Regions from separate parts of the Homo sapiens genome. Here regions 1, 3 and 4 are each linked to region 2. Evidence: promoter capture Hi-C in human tissues and cell types (Jung and others, 2019). All regions are on one chromosome and are shown on one strand. Each heading gives the region's core, a stretch centred on a gene start or on the middle of the fragment in contact. The rest is flanking DNA. Distances are from core to core; before and after follow the strand shown. Region 1 holds the start of LOC101928391 (a long non-coding RNA gene). Region 2 holds the start of AHDC1 (AT-hook DNA binding motif containing 1). Region 3 overlaps LOC101928391 (a long non-coding RNA gene). Region 4 has its middle 69 kb from the start of SLC9A1.

Region 1 (2,700 bases), core at 5-2,504, 570 kb after region 2:
CCTCCCACCTGGAGGGAGGTGGCGGGCAGGGAACAGCCAGGTAACCGTGGGCTCCTCACTGCAAGGGCCCAGCTCAGATTGAAGGCAGAGGGAACGAGCGAGCGAGGAGGAAGTGGGGAGAGACGGAAGGAGGGGCAAGCGAATCAAAGCACTAGGGATTTACTCACCCAAGCAGGGACAGGGAAGGAGATGGGGCTAGCAGGGCGGGGGACGCCCATGCGCCGCCCCTTCAGAGGACAATTCCCGGGGCCTCACTCCCTCCCACTCTCTCCCTCCCCCGCGGCCCATTCCCGGTGCGACTCCTCCCGTGGGAACTGCTGTCGCTGCAGCGGGCGCCCTGCCACGTGGATGCCAGGAATCAGACTGGGCGGCTGCGGCAGGGCGGGCGCTTCCCTGGGCAGCGATCAGGGCAGGCCTGGGAGAGGGCTGACCCTCACTGGGGTCTGGGGAGAGGGCGGCTCTGGGCGGAAGGGCACCTCGGGAACTGGACGCCCTGGGCTTCGCAGCCCCTCAGATCTGCAGCCAAGGTCATCTTTTCCCAGCTTGAGGAGCAACAACTGGGCACCACCTGGGAGCAGGTTAGAAATGCAGGCTCTCAGGTCTAGCCCCAGACTTGCTGACTCAGAACCTGCACATTCCAAGGAATGTGCCCCAGGTGGCTCCCGGGCACTTTCAAATTTGAGAAGCCTTTTTTCTACAAGAGTAGGCCTGAGTATTTACAGGTTTAAAAAGACGCGGTGGCTCACGACTGTAATCCCAGCACTTCGGGAGGCCGAGGCCGGCTGATCACGAGGCCAAGAGATGGAGACCACCCTGGCCAACGTGGTGAAACCCCGTCTCTACTAAAAATACCAAAAAAAAAAAAAAAAAAAAAAAAATAGCTGGGCTTGGTGGCGTGCGCCTGTAGTCCTAGCTACTCGGGAGGCTGAGGCAGGGAGGATCGCTTGAACCCAGGAGGCAGAGGTTGCAGTGAGCCGAGATCGCGCCACTGCACTCCAGCCTGGTGACAGAGCAAGACTCCGTCTCAAAAAAAAAAAAAAAAAAAAAAAAAAAGACAGACAAGGCCAAGGCCAGGCACGGTGGCTCATGCTTGTAATCCCAGCACTTTGGGAGGCCGAGGAGGGCGGATCACTTGAGCCCAGGAATTCAAGACCAGCCTGGGCAACACTGTGAGACCCAGTCTCTACAAAAAAAAAAAAAAAAAAAAAAAAATTAGCCAGGTGTGGTGGCGTGCACCTGTAGTCTCAGCTACTGGTGAGGCTGAGGTGGGAGAATAGATTCAGCCCAGGAGGCAGAGGTTGCAGTAACCCTTGATTGAGCCACTACACTCTAGACTGGGCAACAGAGCGAGGCTCTGTCTCAAAATAAATAAATAAATAGGCTGGGCGCAGTGGCTCACGCCTGTAATCCTAGCACTTTGGGAGGCCGAGGCGCACCTGAGGTCAGGAGTTTAAGACCAGCGTAGCCAACATGGTGAAACCCCGTCTCTACTAAAAATACAAAAATTAGCCAGGCGTCGGCCAGGCGCGGTGGCTCACGCCTGTAATCCCAGCACTTTGGGAGGCCGAGGCGGACGGATCACAAGATCAGGAGATCAAGACCATCCTGGCTAACATAGTGAAACCCGTCTCCTCTACTAAAAATACAAAAAAAATTAGCCGGGCATGGTGGTGGGCGTCTGTAGTCCTAGCTACTCGAGAGGCTGAGGCAGGAGAATGGCGTGAACCCAGGAGGCGGAGCTTGCAGTGAGCCGAGATCACGCCACTGCACTCCAGCCTGGGCGACAGAGTGAGACTCCATCTTAAAAAAAAACAAAACAAAACAAAAGAAAAAAATTAGCCAGGCGTGGTGTCACATGCCTGTAATCCTAGCTACTTGGGAGGCTGAGGCAGGAGAATCACTTGAACCCGGGAGGAAGGGGTTGCAGTGAGCCAAGATCACGCCATTGCACACCAGCCTGGACAATAAGAGTGAATAAGAGTGAAACTCCATCTCAAAAAAAAAAAAAAATTAGTAGTGTATAAATAGACCACATAATCTATGAATTGTATTCCATTATAGGAAAGGGGCATTGCAAGATACTTGTTACAAAAGGGGGCGTGAGGCCTGCTGGGGCTGGGAACCCACTGAGGAACACTCACTCCTGTTTTCAATCAACAGCATGGCTCTGAGGAAACAGAAGCAGGAACTAAATGGCGCTTGAATCTGAGGAGCTTCTACCCTGGCAGGCGAGATGAGATAGAGACGCAAATCGCCACCTTCCTGAGCCTCAGTTTCTTCACCTGTGAAATGGGCTTTCTCACCACTCACCTCTGCCTGCCTCCCTGCAGGGTCGGATCAGATGGGCCGAACCAGCTTCTAGACAGGGAGGGGCTTCATGAGCCGCTCCACACCTGAGGGAAGGGAGATTGGAACATCTGCCCTGCTCACATCGTGCCAGGGACAGCTCAGGCTTCTGTGCCTATCTTGGTCTTCAGACTCCAGCCTCTGGCCCTGCAGATTCTCTCTCAGGGCCTCGTCTGCTTTCTCTGGTGTCCCTCTCTCTTCCACCTTCCTTCTCCACTCCCCTGTATCCCCGCACCACCGAAATCCACACCTGTCTGAAGCTTGTACCAAATTAGCAAATTGGCAGTTTCTGAGGAGGGCAAGCCAGCCTTGACTACATACCAGACACTGCTCACACACTGGGTCTTTTATGCT
Region 2 (2,759 bases), core at 235-2,734:
GAGCTTGGAAGGAGTGAAGGTGTGGGGAAGATAGTGACCAGGGAGTTGCGGTTGGCAAAATGTCACCAGCTGCCTTTGTCACACACTGGCCAACACCCTGCAAGGCCAAAGGAAGAGTCAGAAACAGGTAGGCCAGAGACAAAGGCACTGCTCTAGGAACTTCAGACCTGGAGCAAGATAGACAAGGCCAGCAGACACAGGGTGTGGAACATCAGACACACAGATGAGGTGGTCCAGTGAGGTGGGACCGCCGCAGGGCCAGTCAGGGCCGGCGTTGGTAGACACCTAGGACACAGGACACGACAGCCACTATGCATTATTCATCTCCGTGTCCCTTGCAAGCCCTGCATACCTCAGTTAACATTTGTTGAAGTGCCAAGAAAGGACACACAGACACAGGGAGAGAAGGTCAGTTACAGAAATGGAGGGAGTCACAACTCCTTGTCATAGCCCAGGGGTTAAGCTTGTGGGGTTTGGAGTTAGTCAGACCCTGGTTCAAATCCAGCTGGGTTCAGCCACTTGCTAACTGGAGAACCTGGACCTCAGTGCCCCCATCTCTAAAATGGAAATAACAGCACTATTTTACCGCAGCAGTTCAGCCATCTCCGGGGGCGGTAACAAGGCCCCCAAGCAGCGCACATTCCCATCTGTGGGATAGGCTAGGCAGGGGCTGGAGAACACATGTGACCTGAAGAGGAGGTAGGTGAAAGTGCTGAGCCCAGCCCCCGGCCGCGGCAGGAGGTCAGCACCGTTCAATCTGAATCCTGCTTCCTGACACAACGCAAATGCTCAGCAGAATTCGGAAAAGGGTGTGTGTGTTCTATCTGCGGATTATCCAGGACTTTTGAGCCCTCGCCGCCCTTGGACATATAGGAAAGCTGGGAGTTGCAAGGGCGAAACCGAGGTCGGAGTTTGAGAGGAGGGGTCACTGAGTGAGGAAGCAGCGCTGGCTGGGTCTCCCCCGCTCCCCCGCCCCAGCAGCCCTCCCGCCATATATACTTGAGCTTTACTCAATAAGAAACCTTTTCAGAAAAGGATAACGTCCCCAGATTGAGAGAGCCGGTCCTCTCCTCTGCCCTCTCCCCCTCCCATTTAATTGGGACGCCCCAGAAAGTCGCAGCCCCTTTGGCTAATCCCCTGGTTCCCTATTCCACTCCCATTCCACTCTCAGACCCCGCCCCTTCACTCCCACCCGCAACCTCCGCTCGATCCAGAGCCCCCCGGTGGAGACAAGGAACACAGGGACCATTCTTAACCCTTGGGGAGGATCTTCGCCCGTTGGTAAACGAGGACGCGCTCCAGCCAGACGAGCCCCAGGCGCGGGGTCCCCGGGGCTCCTGGCCGCGCCGTCGGAGCAGCCGGCGCGGCCCCGCCCTCCCCGCGCGCGGAGCGGCCGGGGCGGGGACTACAAGTCCCGGCGTGCCGCGCGCGCGCTCCCCCCTGGGGTTCCGGATGGTGAGCGGCGAAGGTAAGGCGAGCTCGCAGAGGCAGCGGCGGCGGCGGCGGAGACGGAGAGAGGCAGGCAGGCAGGGCGAGGGCGAGAGACGGAGGGAGGGAGCGAGCGAGGCGGACCAGACAGACAGACAGGCGGGCGGGCGGGCAGAGCGAGCCACCCGCCAGGCTGCGCTCAGCCCCGCTCGCAGCGGAGAGAGCAGAAGGCAGGAGGAGGGAGGGGAGGAGGGGGAGGGAGGGAGAGAGGGAATCCAGCTACCACCACCCAAAGCCAGCGTCTGCTTTCTGTCCTCATTTCCTTTTCCCACCCAGCTTGGAGAGCAGAGAAAGGCAGAGAGAGCGAGAAATAGAGACAGTCTGAGAGACAGACAGACAGCCAGAGAGAGCGGGAGGGAGGAGGGCGGAGGAGGAGGAGCAGGAGGACTACGCGGGGCGCGTTCCCTCCCAGGTTTGCTATTGGGGGGGGTGGGGGCGGGGGTGTCCAGGGCTGGGAGAGTGTGTGCGCGGCGGGAGGGCGAGGGGGGCGCAGAGAGAGCGAAGGAGTGATCGAGGTGGGGGGGCGCCGCGGGAGCGGGGGGCCGTGTCCAGCGGAGTTAGCGGCGGAGAATGTGAGCCGAGGCGCGAGCCATGCTGTCAGCGACGGCGGGCGGCTCAGGGCTCCTCCACGACTCCTCTCCTCAGCAGCCGGGCGCCCGCGTCGCTGCCACCGCCGGAAGACAGACGTCCCCCAAAACCCCTCGCCTGGCTCGGACCCACGGAGCCGGCAGCCCAGCACTCCGGTGAGTGGCGCCTCCTCCCCAGCCCCAGACCCCCGCTGGGGACCGGCCGGCCAGGCTCTTTTGTGCAGCGCACGGGGGGGGCCTGCGTCCCCCGGTCCGGTCCGCTGGACCCGGTGGCTGCGGTGCCCGCGGTGCGATCGGTCTTTGTTTCCACCGGGGCCCGCGGCTCGGCTGGGCTCGGCTCGAAGCCTGGCAGGCAGCGCCGGGAAGGGGGAGGGGGAGGTGGACGGGGAGGGGGGGCGGGGAGGGGGGGTTCTCGGGTTTCCTGGCCGCCCCGCGGCTCCCCCGGCTCGGGGGCGAGGTGCGCGCCCAGCGCTGCCGCGCGCCCCCTCCTCCTTCCCCCTCCCTCCGCCTTTGGATTTAAAACTGCAATTTGCTCTCCAGCTTGCTGAGAATGTGGGGGGGGGGGGAATGAAGGGGGGACCGTGGGAGCGGAGAACAAGGCTGGATTTTAGGATCGGCGCTGGGAAAAGGGGAGACTGCGGAGGGAGGAGCCCCTCCCCTCCAACCCCCAAATCCCTAGGATCC
Region 3 (2,700 bases), core at 127-2,626, 560 kb after region 2:
ATTTTGTCAAGATGGGGTTTCACCATGTTGCCCAGACTGGTCTGGAACTCCTGGGCTCAAGCAATCAGCCCACCTTGGCCTCTCAAAGTGCTGGGATTGCAGGCATGAGCCAGTGCACCCAGCCTATGCCGAAATGTAATCCCCAGTGTGGCCATATTGAGAGGTAGGACCTCTAAGAGGTGATTGGATCATGAAGGCTCTGCCCTCATGAATGGATTAATCTCGTGGGTTAATGGATTAATGAGTTAATTGGTGATTATAGGAGTGGGACTGAGGACTTTATAAGAAGAGGAAGGGACACTGAGGGACACCACTCAGCCCCCTCACCATGCGACGTCATGCCCTCCCACAGGAGTCTGCAGAGAGCTCCCACCAGCAAGAAGACTCCCACCAGATGTGGCCCCTCGACCTTGGACTTCCCAGCCTCCAGAACTTTAAAAATACATTCATTTCCTTTAGAAATTACCCAGTTTCAGTATTCTGTTGTAAGCAACAGAAAACAAACTAAGACAGATGTCTGAATCTGTCAGAGCAGAGAAGTCCAGGCCCCAGCACAAGCTGTCATCCTGGAAGCTATCAGACCACATGCTTCCCAGGAAAGGAAGGGAGATGCAAGGTCGTGCAAACTGCAGGAAGCCCGCTGGCCTGTCCGGGCCCTGGGGGTCTGGTGCTGCTTCTCCCCTACCTGCCTTCAAATTTACCCCACCATCCACTTCATTCCCAGCAGATCTCACTGCCTATAGGCCTCAGGTGGCCAGAGACCAGGGACCTTTCTGCTCAGGATCTGCTTCCCAAGGACTCCTACTCTTTTCTCTGATTCTCCTTTTAGGGAATCCCTGAGACGCAGGAGCACTGTGGTGACTTCTTTCCTGCTGCTGTCACAGTCACGGGGCAGAGGGCAGAGACCCTAACCTAGAAGAGGAAGGTTTTCTCCCTGATGCCCCACAATTGTGCACCCAGCATACAGGGAAGAGCCAAGGAGCCAGGGAAACACTGCCCAGCCAGCACCCAGTGGGACAGATGTGTGCCCTGGCCCCGGTGCAGACCTCACTACCATGATGGCCTGCACACCCTGCCTGCCCACCTCCTTCCCCTTGGCCTGCTGCCCCTACCCCAGGGCAGGGTCTCAGCTGAGGAGGGAGCTGTGGTCACCCCAGCACTCCTTGCCTGCTGAGTTGGGATGGGACTGTGCTTGTAGTTATTCCCACTACATTCTGGAGAACTTTCCAGGCCCTTGGGAAGCGCATAGGAGGTGCTTCTTATGCTGCAGTCCTCCATGAATGTGAGTTTATGGGAAGGCCAGGGAAACAGTGAGGCCTGGGGACAGCTCTTCAGCCATCCTCTGGCCTGAGTAAAGCCGAGTATAGCAAAGAGATACAGCCTTCCCCGACGACCAGGACAGACCCAGAGGAGCAGTAGCCACTTTCTCACCTGTAAAATGGGAATGAAGCCGGAAGCGGTGGCTCACACCTGTAATCCCAGCACATTGGGAGGCTGAGGCAGGCGTATCACCTGAGGTCAGGAGTTCGAGACCAGCCTGGCCAGCATGGTGAAACTCCGTCTCTACTAAAAATACAAAAATTAGCTGGGCGTGGTGGTGTGCACCTGTAATTCCAGCTACTCGGGAGGCTGAGGCATGAGAATCACTTGCATCCAGGAGGCAGAGGTTGCAGTGAGCCGAGATCGCACCCCTGCACTCCAGCCTGGGTGACGGAATAAGATTTTGTCTCAAGAAAAAAAAGGGGGGGGAGGAATGAGAGCTTGAAAGGAGAGAAAGAAGTAAAGCTTTTTATTCATCCTCTGCTGAGGTGCCTTTTCCAGGTTTCCAGGGGGGTGTGGATACACCCAAAGGCAGGGCAGGGGTGGGGGGGGGGGCAGCATGGGATGGGGCCCTGAGATGGCAGAATTCATCCTCAAAGGTGAGTGAGGCCTTGCTCCTTCTGGGAGCAGCAAAGCCGGACAAGCAGAGACAAGGGCTGCTTCTTGGACACAAAGAATTCCTGGAGAGCCTCAGGAATACGACTTGGGGCCTGGACACTTTGTCAAATCAAAGATTGATTGAATCAGTGAATGGCTGAATTTATGGCTGGAGATGAGCTCACTTGGAAGCAGCCCTGTGATCATGAGAAAACTTGACCCAAAAGAGGGGGAATGGCCCGGCGCGGTGACTCACGCCTGTGATCCCTGCACTTTGGGAGGCCGAGGCGGGTGAATCACTTGAGCCCAGGGGTTCAAGACCAGCTTGGGCAACATAGCGAGACCACGTCTCAAAAAACTAAACAACAACAACCAAAAAAAAAAAGAAGGAAGGAGGAGGAGAAGAAGGATAAGGAGAAGGAGGAGAAGAAGAAGGTGGGGAGGGGGTGGGGAGAAAGGGTCCCGTGAAATCCTGAAGTCAGGAAACCTGACTCCTGCGGGGCCGCAAGGGTCAAAGAATTCCCCACGTGCGGCTGAGATTTTTGCCTCAGCGCCACCTGCTGGCGGTTACTGACCCTGGCTGCAGCTAGAAGTTACCGCCTGAATGGGGAAGATTTTGCAAAGAGGAGGACCAAGCTCTAAGATGGCCTGCCTGCTCAGCAATGGCTGCTACCTGATTCATCCTGATCCTTCCAGGAGTCGGCCAAGAAAATATATCAAAGCCTGGGAAAAGGCAAGAGATTTCTGGGTGTGTTCCTTTCAGAGGAGTGCCGGGTGTTGGCT
Region 4 (2,707 bases), core at 9-2,508, 520 kb after region 2:
GGTGACAAGAGTGAGACTCTCAAAGAAAACTGAGGCTCAGCTGCCCCATGCAATTTGACAGATAGGTCCAGAGCACCTGCTGTGTGTGTGTGTGTGTGTGTGTGTGTGTGTGTGTGTGTGTGTGTGTTGTGTGGCGGGGGGTGGTGTGTGTCTGTGGTGTGAGGTATGTGTGGGGTGTGTGTTTGGTGTGTGGTGTGTGGTTGTGTGTGTGGTGTTTGGTACGTGAGGTGTGTGTGTGGTGTGTGGTGTCTATGGGTGTTGTGTATGCTGTGTGTGTGTGTGGTGTGTGTGGATGTGGTGTGTGTGGTGTGATATGTGGGGTGTGTGGTGTGTGTGGGATAGGCGGTGTCTCTGTGTGTGATGTGTGTGGTGTGCAGGGTGTGTATGGGGTGTGTGGGGTGTGTGTATGTGTGTAGTGTGTGGTGTGTGTGGTATGTGGGATGTGTGGTGTGTAGTGTGTGTGGTGTGGTGTATGGATGTGGTGTGTGTGGTGTCTGTGTGTGTGGTATGTGGGGTATGTGGTATGTGTGTGGTGTGTATGTGTGGTGCAGTGTGTGGGCTGTGTGGTATGTGGTGTGTGTGTGGTGTGGTGTGTGTGATCTTTGTGGTGTGTGGGGGTGGTGTGTGAGGTGTATGTGGTGTGTGATGTGTGTGTGGTATGGTGTGTGTTGTGGTTGGCAGAATTGTAAGATGGCCTCCAAGATTCCTGCCTTTTGTTGTACAAGACATGTATAATCCCCTCCCCTTGACGGTATACAGGCAGAACCTGTATGGTGGGATATTGCTGTGATTAGGTTACATTATATAGCAAAGGTGAATATTGCAAATATAATTAAGGCCCCTAATCAGTTGACTTTGAATTAATCAGAAGAAACTCATCTTGGTGGGCCTGACCTAATCAGGTGAGCCTTTTACAGAGCGCTTTACTGCTGGCCTTGAAGGAGCAAACTGTCCTCTTGTGAAGGGGGTCACATGTCAGTGAGCAACTGGTGGCCTCTAGGAGCTACGAATGGCCCCTGTTGGCAGCCAGCAAGAAAGTAGAAACCTCAGTCCTCCAATTGCAGGAAACTGAATTCTGCAACAACCAATAAGCTTGGAAGATGACCCTGAGCCCCAGCTGGGGTCACAGTCTGGGCTAGTTCCTTGATTTCAGCCTGGTAAGATGCTAAGCAGAGGACTCAAAACATGCTGGGCTTCTGACCCACAGAAACTGTGACACAATAAATGTGTTTTTTGTTTGTTTGTTTGTTTGTTTGTTTGTTTTTGACGGAGTCTCGTTCTGTCACCCAGGCTGGAGTGCAATGGCACAATCTCGGCTTACTGCAACTTCCACCTCCTGGGTTCAAGAGATTCTCCTGCCTCAGCCTCCCAAGTAGCTGGGATTACAGGTGCGCGCCACCACACCTGGCTAATTTTTGTATTTTTAGTAGAGACGGTTTCGCCATGTTGACCAGGGTGGTCTCAAACTCCTGACCTCAGGTGATCTACCCACCTCAGCCTCCCAAAGTACTGAGATTACAGGCATGAGCCACCACGCCTGGCAAATGTGTGTTCTTTTAAGCCACTAAGTTTGTGGTAATGTATTACACAGCAATAGAAAACTAATACAGCCATTAGTTTACTTTTGTTTTGTTTGTGTGTGTGTTGGGGGTGGAGAGTGGATATTAGAAATGTTTTTAAAGTGGTGGGAAATGACCCAGTAGAGAAGGAAACACTTTGATAAAGTAAAAGAGGTAGAGATTCAGAATCAAGACATTCTGAGGCCAGGCACAGTGGCTCACATCTGTAATCCCAGCACTTTGGGAGGCTGAAGCAGGAGGAGCTCTTGAGTCCAGGAGTTCAAGACAAGCCTGGGCAACATAGAGACACTGTGTCTCTACAAAAAACAAAAGACAAAAAAACATAGCCAGGCATGGGTGGTGGCCCATGCCTGTGGCCCCAGCTAGTCAGGAGGCTGAGGTGGGAGGGTCGCTTCGCCCAGGAGATTGAGGCATGATTGCACCACTGCACTCCAGTCTTGGTGACAGAGCGAGACCCTGTCTTAAAAAGAAGGAGAAGGAGGAAAAGAAGGAGAAGAAAGAGAAGAAGGGGAAGAAGAAGGAGGAGAAGAAGAAAAGAAGAAAGAAGAGAGAGAAAAAAAAGACACCCTTGAGAGAAGTAGGGACAACATCTCCAAAGTAGGAAGAAGCAGATGGGTTTGCAGATTTTGTGGAGGAAAGATGAAAAGGTGTCTGTGTGACTGAAGGCATTAATTCTCTCAATAAATAGTCAGGCAAGGTTACCAAATCAAATGAGAATGAATCTAGAAAGGGAAATAGGAAATTTGAAGAAAGAGGAAAAGAAGTGAAATAGTTACCTTGAGAAAGAGGAGAAGAAAGAAACTGTTCGTGTTAGAAAAACAGTAGAGTTTTCCGTGTCGAGTCCCTTTGATGTTTGAGAACAGTGGCACTGCTCAGCTCAGCTGTACGAATTTGTCAGTGATCTTCAGATACTTGAGTGCAGGCACCAAGACAGATGGGTTTTGCCAGGCAAATAAGATGAAGTCAAAGAGGGGTTATGGAGTTCCAGGTATTGGCAAAGAGATAGTGATAATGATAAACCATAGACCCTAGAAGAGACCCAAAGAGAGGTTAAGACTGGAGGAAGTTGAGAACTAGGATTAATGTACTGGACATATCCCTGGACGGGAGCATTATTAAATGGGTCT

What was found. The method cuts DNA at HindIII sites, captures the fragments that hold promoters and counts their contacts. A contact is called where the count stands out against the background at its distance.
Region 1: a fragment that was not itself captured here is called in contact with the fragment with the promoter of AHDC1 in region 2 in 1 of the 25 tissues and cell types used here (lymphoblastoid cells).
Region 3: a fragment that was not itself captured here is called in contact with the fragment with the promoter of AHDC1 in region 2 in 2 of the 25 tissues and cell types used here (hippocampus and lymphoblastoid cells).
Region 4: a contact is called between a fragment that was not itself captured here and the fragment with the promoter of AHDC1 in region 2, in 2 of the 25 tissues and cell types used here (lymphoblastoid cells and neural progenitor cells).

What each region holds. Positions count from the first base shown.
Region 1 is chr1:27,029,297-27,031,996 of GRCh38, reverse strand. It overlaps LOC101928391 (a long non-coding RNA gene), which reads right to left and starts at 239. Exons shown (of 8, transcript XR_007065559.1): 1 at 168-239. The HindIII fragment of the contact is 5,333 bases long and covers 1-2,700 here.
Region 2 is chr1:27,602,869-27,605,627 of GRCh38, reverse strand. AHDC1 (AT-hook DNA binding motif containing 1) reads left to right here and starts at 1,484. Exons shown (of 9, transcript NM_001371928.1): 1 at 1,484-1,522; 2 at 1,765-1,900; 3 at 2,134-2,231. RefSeq lists silencers at 1,140-1,679, 2,230-2,309. The HindIII fragment of the contact is 10,400 bases long and covers 1-2,759 here.
Region 3 is chr1:27,045,870-27,048,569 of GRCh38, reverse strand. All of the region lies in intron 5 of LOC101928391 (a long non-coding RNA gene), which reads right to left. Among named protein-coding and RNA genes, the nearest start is that of TENT5B, 34 kb to the right of the region's middle. RefSeq lists an enhancer at 1,766-2,266. The HindIII fragment of the contact is 8,236 bases long and covers 1-2,700 here.
Region 4 is chr1:27,084,450-27,087,156 of GRCh38, reverse strand. No RefSeq gene overlaps it. Among named protein-coding and RNA genes, the nearest start is that of SLC9A1, 69 kb to the left of the region's middle. The HindIII fragment of the contact is 7,329 bases long and covers 1-2,707 here.